Linked DNA regions of Homo sapiens: region 2 is linked to region 1. The links are contacts of gene promoters, found by promoter capture Hi-C in blood cells and fetal thymus (Javierre and others, 2016). All regions are on one chromosome and are shown on one strand. Each heading gives the region's core, a stretch centred on a gene start or on the middle of the fragment in contact. The rest is flanking DNA. Distances are from core to core; before and after follow the strand shown.

The links. The method cuts DNA at HindIII sites, captures the fragments that hold promoters and counts their contacts. A CHiCAGO score of 5 or more calls a contact.
Region 2: the fragment with the promoter of LINC00544 here is called in contact with the fragment with the promoter of TEX26-AS1 in region 1 in 4 of 17 cell types (fetal thymus, monocytes, M2 macrophages and 1 more); the score reaches 9.1 in fetal thymus.

What each region holds. Positions count from the first base shown.
Region 1 is chr13:30,930,798-30,934,751 of GRCh38, forward strand. TEX26-AS1 (TEX26 antisense RNA 1) reads right to left here and starts at 1,811. Exons shown (of 4, transcript NR_038287.1): 1 at 449-1,811; 2 at 4-77. It overlaps TEX26 (testis expressed 26), which reads left to right and starts at 1,859. Exons shown (of 7, transcript NM_152325.3): 1 at 1,859-1,979. The coding sequence starts at 1,919. The HindIII fragment of the contact is 4,425 bases long and covers 1,031-3,954 here.
Region 2 is chr13:29,934,735-29,938,688 of GRCh38, forward strand. LINC00544 (long intergenic non-protein coding RNA 544) reads left to right here and starts at 1,797. Exons shown (of 5, transcript NR_033889.1): 1 at 1,797-1,967; 2 at 2,468-2,547; 3 at 3,172-3,275. RefSeq lists enhancers at 81-140, 861-980, 1,111-1,230. The HindIII fragment of the contact is 6,836 bases long and covers 1-3,954 here.

The sequences.
Region 1 (3,954 bases), core at 561-3,060:
TACCCCTAAGGGCCTGCAGTGACAGAAAGATCCTTTGGCTCTCTATTTGGTTCCTACCGCACCATTTCACAGCTTGCCTAAAATGAGACAAATTGTAAGATATTAATAAGAATTCACTTTCAAAATTCTATATACTTGCTGCTCTATTTTAAACATATATTTCTCTTAAATTATGCTATGCTAATTAGCTCTACCATTTCCAGACAGTAATCTGTTATTGGGTGCTACTTTTTAAATTTAGATGCCACTACTAAATCCTAATTTAGACTCATTCCTTTTAATAACATCTATGCCTTCTAATGTGTTCCACCCTCCATTGCTTCAAAACATGAGAGTTTATAATGTGTTATATTCATTCCATTATATGGATAGAACTCTACCTTCAGGAAATTCTAGTTTAGCTCTTCATTTTAAAGACATTCCTTGCACATATATTTGGGATCCTTACCTTGATGCTTTTTCTGTCTCCTTTGATAAATTCCTCCTTTGTCACACTGCACTGTTTCTCTGAGGTCTTGTATTAGAATAGCCCCTTAAGAATAAGGAACTGTTGTAAATTGCTTTGTAAACAGGTTGCCAGCCAACTCCAAAATGTATTTCCTGTCTTCTCTTTTCACCCAAGTGGGTAATAACTGTGTTGTAACCTGGAGACAGTCAGTAGTTACTAACCACCTAGTATGTCAAATTACCAGGTAAGGTTATCCAGCAAAAGGGGCTCACTGCACTAGAAGCCAACACTATGACACCAAGTTTTTGAGAAAAGGAAAGCTTCACATTGCAAGTTAACTTCTGAGGAAACAAAAGTCCAGTTCAAATCTGTCTTGTACTGGCTTTAGGGCAGTAATTTTATTACAAAAGGTTTAGGGTTGGATCCTGGGGTTAGCAGGTGATTGGTGGAAGCAAAGGGAACATCTGGGAAGTCTTCAGGCATGCATGGCTCTCTCTTCATGCTTCCTGGTGGGTCCCATGTGCAAATTTGGAGGGAGTTGGTATGAAACATGCAGTAGAAATTCAGGCTGTGACATCAGCAAGCTTGCTGTGCGCAAACTGCATTTGGCCATATTGATTCCGGCTGATTTCAGTCAGTTTTGTTATAAGCAGAGGGAGTTTCAGCAAATTGTTTCTTTTCTTATCTGCCCCTGAAAACAAGAATTTCTGTTAGTTATTGGTGTCTTTGACTCTTTGAAACAGTTTCAGTAGTTCCCAAGATATGAAGATAAAAGACCCCCTTCATCAGTGAAAACTCTTACAAGGGGATGAAAGACACAGCTTCCTCTATGAGAGCACAAGAACAATTAAATTGACCCTCACAAACACTATGGTTGGTGCCAGGAACGTGGCCTGGTGAGGAGGACAGTGTCACATCCTCCCTGCCCACTCCTGTTTCCACGCGTGCATTTCCTCTTCTGCCCCTCTCCTAAGCCAGGATGACCCTTCTGACCGCGTGGAACTATCACAGAAACTGCTTCCATTTATACCAGATGACTTGGGATTCAGTCTTCTTGCTTGGTTTTTATTGACTGCAAAAATCCATGACAACTTTGCGCACATTTGCTTAAGCTGAAAGCAAATGGATGAAAGTTTGTAGTTGAAAATCTACTTTCTCTTCAATCTCTTCCCTTTTTGCTTTTCTTAGGAAACATACAAGACAGTGGTCCGGAAAGCTCACTGCAAGAACTGTACAAATAATGTAAAAGTAAGGCATCCATAAGATCAAAGCCACATTTCTTTGCTCTCTGCACCCCATTCCCGCGCCGGCCAGGTTAAGCCTCCTGCGTGGCCAGCACCCCTTGGCAGGGGCAGAACTCCCTGGAACCCGATCCTTGTCTCCATGGCGACGCGTCACAAAGCAGCCCGCGGCTCCCGCAAGCGCTGAGATAGCTGGAGCCAGGGCCCCGCGGCCGCCTCCTGGGGCAGAATGGAACAGCCTGGGCCCAGGGCTCCGGATCCCTCTCTCTGCCACCACAACCTCCAGCCAAGTAAGACAGCAGACTCTGCCGGTCTGCGGGGCGGGGCTGGGGTCTTTCCCGGGGAAAGGGTCCTGTTGAGAAAAAGGGGCCTTAGTATTTAAGGGTGTGGCATCGCTCTTAGGAGTATGCTCAACTGAGGAAAAGACGGGGAGTCAGGGAGAATGACAGGGCCTTCATGACGCTGCCCCTTTTCAGTCCTTCGCATAACCTTTGCCAAATCCCCGCTCCCTAAAACGCGCAGGGTTTTTAAACACTCGAGGAAGTGCCTGGCTAAGAGGGGACAGGAAAAAAGGAAGAACTGGTGATTTTCCAAGGAAAACAGGGCCAAAGGCAAAGAAGAAAGAGAAGTCCTGGAAGCTCTGAAGAGAACAGGTCCTGCCTGAGTCCCGATCCCCATATAGGATCTTGGAAACAGCAAGGAAAGTGGGGGAAGGGTTGGCTGCTGAATGGAGTCCCAGCTGTGTCTGCAGAGGCAGACGCCCTCCCTGGGCTGTCGCACCAGGCTGGGAGCCATGGCCTTCAGCTGCCGCCTCTAACCTGAATTGATTTTTCTTCCACAGAGATTTTGTATTTCACAGAGGTAGTGCTTTTCATCCTAATTCTGCCCACAGATGCAGCAGGTTCACCAGTTCAGCCTTTTGGGTCTGTGGAGGGAGAACCACTCTAGCTGTGACGCTAGTGGCATGATTACCGTGTAGTCAGCTCCATCATAGTCTCTTGTGGCAATAATTGGCCATTGCTGCTGTATAGTTGGGTAACTGTGATTCCACAGTGGCTATGGAGCAGTGAAGGATTGTTCAAGTACAAATTCCCTAGAATTGTGCTCCCAAAAGAGTGAATGAAATGCATATTTTCATTCCAATTCATTCCGTTGTAAATTAAGAATGGAAAATGAAAATACTTAATTAGTGCAGAAAATATCTAATACACTCAGTTTCTATATGATGGGAAGGCAAACAGGAGAGACAGAGGAGGGAGGATCCCCTCCTAGCATCCCGACAGCACCCCTTTGGATGCTTCTCTTCCCTTTCTAACCACCCTGTTTTCCCACTGTCTCCCCATTTCATCCCCTTCTTGTCTGGGAACTGTTGGAGTCCCCCAGGATTGATCCTTCTAGGCTTACCTTCTCTTTGTGACCATATCCTGCACAGGGCTTCAAGTGCTGCATAAAGGTGCCAACAACTCTCTAACCTTTATCTCTGACTTGGACTTTCTTCCTACTTTTTCAGACCAGAATATCTAACTGTCTACCAGACAGTTCCATGTGGGTGTCACAGCAGGGCCTCCAACTTGACATGTGCAAAATCACACTCCTTGTCCTCCTCAAACCTTCCAGACTTTGAGAGTTCAGTTAAGAGGGTCCTAGCTGCTCAATTTAGAAGGGAAGGCAGCTTCCTTGAGACTGCAGTTTGATCACCAGGTCTCTTTGATTCTGCCTCCAAAGCTCTTTTTCCCCCAGGTGAATTCGCCCCTTTACCTCCAGGCTTGGGCCTCTAATGGCTACTCTGTGCCACTTCATTCCCCACTGCTGGGAGAGTCACCCTCCAAATGGTAGGCTTGATGTGTCCCCACTGCCCAGGTTTGGTCCGAAATAGGATGAGGTTGATGGTGACTGATGACTAACTGTTATTGAATAATTACTACAGATGGGGCTCTCAGGTGTTGTATTAGTTTCCTGTGGCTGCTATGTGTTCCCACAGACTGGTGGATTCAAACAACAAAAATGTATTTGCTCACAGCTCTGAAGGTCGAGAGCCTGAAATCAAGGTCTGGACAAGTCTGCACTCCCTCTACAGGCCCTAGGGGAGAAGTGGTCCTTACGTCTTCCAGCTTCAGGTAGCCATCGGCACTGCTAGTGATGGCAGTGGCTGCTGCCATCATGCTGGCTGCAGCAGGGAAGCACAGCTGGGGCTGCAACACTCCATGGAGCCCGTGGGAGCTGCCCCTTCTGAGTTGGGATGGGAGCTCCCTGTGCCGCTACAGC
Region 2 (3,954 bases), core at 547-3,046, 1.0 Mb before region 1:
CCCTCATAGCTCCATTCAGGCAAGGTATAGATTTGAGTAGAAATATCTGTCCTGAGCATCGAGGTACCGCGGTGATGCAAATGTAAGCCCCAGCACAGACAGCATGTCTGTGTTTCTAGTGAGCTGGCAGATGGCTTTTAAAGTCAAGTTACAAGTGTGTCCAGGCACAGGGACAGCTGTGTGAGCAAAGGAACACTTTTGTGCCAGGGAGGGAGAGAGGACCAGCTCTAGGGGGAACTATAGGCTCTGCAGGCTCAGAAAGAGGCAGGTGTGATGAAAACCTTCCAGGAGCACCTCATCACTCCGTTCAGGCCTCCTGACTCATTAGGAGATTCTGGTGACACCCCGCCTCCCTGGCTTCAATCTCTCTAGCTGTAAGCCTGGGGATTGGAAGACTTGGCACAGTCTTTCCTCCCCAAGGGTGCCGTGCTGATGATGTTTGCAGAGTGCATCACACTCCTCTGATAAAAGGTGTCTCCTGAGTACAAAGTATCATTGTCACTATATTCCACAATGTGGCTAAATATAGGTGTGCACCAATCTGCTGAAGAGCAGAGTGTCTCTTCAGCATTTGCCTGGGAGGAGCAAGTGGCCCAGTGGCTGCATAGGATGCAGCAGAAAAGAGCTGGCATGCAGCAGCAGTGTACCTGAGACCAGGGCATGGGGAGAGGGAAAGGCCCTGCATGCCCCCCTGGTGGGCAGCCCCAGCCCACTTGGTGACAGTGAGGCCTGAGTGCAGCAAGGCTGGAGTCATGCTGTGAAAGCCCACAGTAGCAGAGCCCCTGCCAGGAATATAGCAAGGAGATCACAGATCACAGAGTACATTGCACCTGCCCCATGCAGTGGCGGAGCAAGACGCTCAAGGGTCTGGAGTTAAGAGGGACCATTTGAGGTTAAGAGGGAAGGAGTCTCCCTTGTTTTGGTTTTTGTTTTTTGTTTTCCCACACAGTCCCAGAGGGTACTGTGGTGTTCTGACACACTCCCTGTGTCAGAGCTGTTTTTTCATTATGACCAAGACAGAGCAGGTGTGAGAGCTGAGCATCCTCCCCTTGCTGTGCTCCTCTGGTCTCCAAGGCACCCTCCCCATGCGCTGCTTCCTTCCACTTACCGCCCTCGCACGGCACCACATCCTGAGCTCTGCTTGTTCCCTCTTCAGACTGGCAGGTGGTTATAGAGGTGTTTGGGGTGTCAGCTCTGAAATGCTAAAAATAAAACCAGGCTTTCTATCCTGGGATGTCTCATTAGTTTGCTTACAAATGAGTCCCCCTGCAGTTTTTCAGCAATTGGCTAACAAGCTCTAATTTGAGCGTTTGGGCTGGACCTTGGCTCAGTGGGAGCAGACGCGGAGCAGACGCCTTCTCGGAGCTGCCTGTTTGGGGAAGCTGGTCGTTTCCACTCTAGCTCAGCCTCCCAGAACAGGGAAGCTGCAGGAAAGTTGACAAAAGCACAGCAAAGCAGGGAGAGCCTCCTCGGTAGAGAGCAACGACCAGGTGGGTGTGGGTGTGGAGAGCAGTGGGGCCCACCTGGGCAGGTGCGGGGGGATGGGAGGAGGGGCTGAGAGTGCTCTCTAAGTTAAGGTCACGGTGTAGAGGAGAGGACTTGAAAACTTCCTGCAGCAGCTTCGTGGCCCGGTGAAATGTTCTCAGCAGCAAGCATGAAGCTCTGATTTGTAAAAAAATCAATACGGCTTGCATGCCAACTATGCCTTCTCCAATCCTGCATTTGTGATGTCAGAGGTTGTCATTCTGGGCTATGGAGCAAACCTTTCAGGGTTGACCCAGTCCTTCTAGGTCATGTGGAGTGGGCCAGCTTTAATGAACCTGTCTAAAAGGAAGGAAGAGAAAGAGCTCAGCTCCTTAGGGGAACAAGGTGGACCTTGGCAGCTGTCTCACTCCTCACCAGCTCTTCACCTCAGATCTTGTCCTGACTTCCTGGTCCACTAACGGCCTCCTGGATAGAAGAGTCAGGTAATGATCCCTGCCTTTCAATACTCATTGCTCAGTTTCAACAATCATCAACAATTTGCCAATCTCATTTCATCTCTCCTCTTATCTTTTTCCTTTTCTGGAGTATTCAGATCCTCTCACTTTCTGAGTGGAACTAAGAGTCTTCCTCACCTTCATCACCACTATTAGCTTATAAACCTCTTTTAAGGACAGGGATTCACCTCAGCTCAATTATGTTTTGTTACACACGTGGTACCCATCTTCTGTGTTGAGAGATGTTTGAATTATACAGTTTTTAGTGCATTAAGTGTTAGTGTTTGGGATCCAATTTGGCTCACTCTAGATGAGCTATAGAGTCTTCATTTTTTCTCCTCTCCCTTTTTCCTTCTTGAGTTAAAAATCACAGTTACCCAGCCTCCCCATACCTCCCCCCGCACCCTATATTACCACTTGTTTTTCTTTCTTTTTTCTAACCACACCCTGAGGCATTTCACCAGCAACTCTTTATTATCTAACCACAGTTCACCAGCCCAGGAGATGTTCTGAAAATTGACAATGATCATGATATACCCTGGATCCAGAATACTTCTCTATACAATGGGTGTGTATAAAGACAGACAGACCTGCCAGGCTCCATCAGGAAAGCTCTGTGTCTCCTTCACATGTGGAGGGACAGAATATTATCTGGAGATGGAGAATGCTTCTGAGAGCCTCTAGCACAGGGATCCCCAACCCCACAGCCTCGGGCAGGTCCCAGTCCCAGTCTGTGGCCTGTTAGGAACCGGGCCACACAACCGGGGGTGAGCGGTGGGCAAGTGAGCGTTACCACGTGAGCTCTGCCTCCTGTCGGATCAGCCGGTAGCATAAGAGTCTCATAGAAGCGTGAACTCTATTGTGAATTGCGCAAGTGAGGGCTCTAGGTTGGGTGCTTCTTATGAGAATCTAATGCCTGAGGATGAGGCAAAACAGTTTCATTCCAAAATCATCCCCCGGACCCCATCTGTGGAAAAATTGTCTTCCATGAAACCCGTCCCTAATGCCAAAAAATTTGGAGACCACTGCTCTAGTAGGCCTGCCTACTGGGCTTACTTTGTGTATATGAAATTGATAATTATTCCTCGTTTCAGAAATTTAAAATGTTACATTTATATTTCTTTCATATTTCCAACATTGTACCAAAGGTCAGTCCTAGAATGCTTTGTTTTAGCTGTTTTTCTTTCCTTAGGCAGAGAACAAAGATTGGTGGCTTCCTCCTGAGCACACTGGGATGTGGCATTACATCGGGGCTGCTGAGTGCCCTTACCTTCAGCTGCCCAGATGCAGAGGCAGGTGGGTGGGGCCAGGGAGTTTGATGCTTCACCTCCTTAAGTGAGAACTGCATCATGCAAACAGTCAGCTCTCAGCCAGATGGCACCACAAGGTTCTGTGAATTTCTCTCAGCACAACAAGCACATCTGCCAGTTGGGTTCCAATGCTGTTTTCTCTTTTCTTCTCGGCACTAGACACCAGGGCTTTAATTACACAGCCAAACTCAGCCGCAGAACACTCCCCAGTCTCGTCCTGGCTGGGCCCAGGACCTCCCCACCTCTTCAAAAGCCCCAAAATGGAACGATCATGGCCGGTCATCAGGGCCGGCAGGTGCAAAGGTGCTAAGTGGGCTGAGCTGACCCTGTACTCCTCTTGGTTCTCTCTGTAATGATCCCCTCTTCCTCACAGGCCCCCTTTGCCCTGATCTCGCCCTCCCACCTGCTGTCGGAGGGCCCCTCATGGAGATGCTCAGCCAGGCCCAGACCTCAGCGCTCCCTTGGCCTGGCCTTTCCACTGGGCTTCCTCGTGTCCTTAGTGCCCGGGTCCCCAGGGGAAGGCTTGGCCAGAGAGCTGCTTGGAAGCAACAGTTATTACGTAGACAATTGACAGAAATCTGTGTGGTTGTGCGGCCACACTCCTTTGTCAATCCTGCCCAGATATCCTGCTTTCCTCATAACAGCCAGCATTTTTCTGAGTGCTC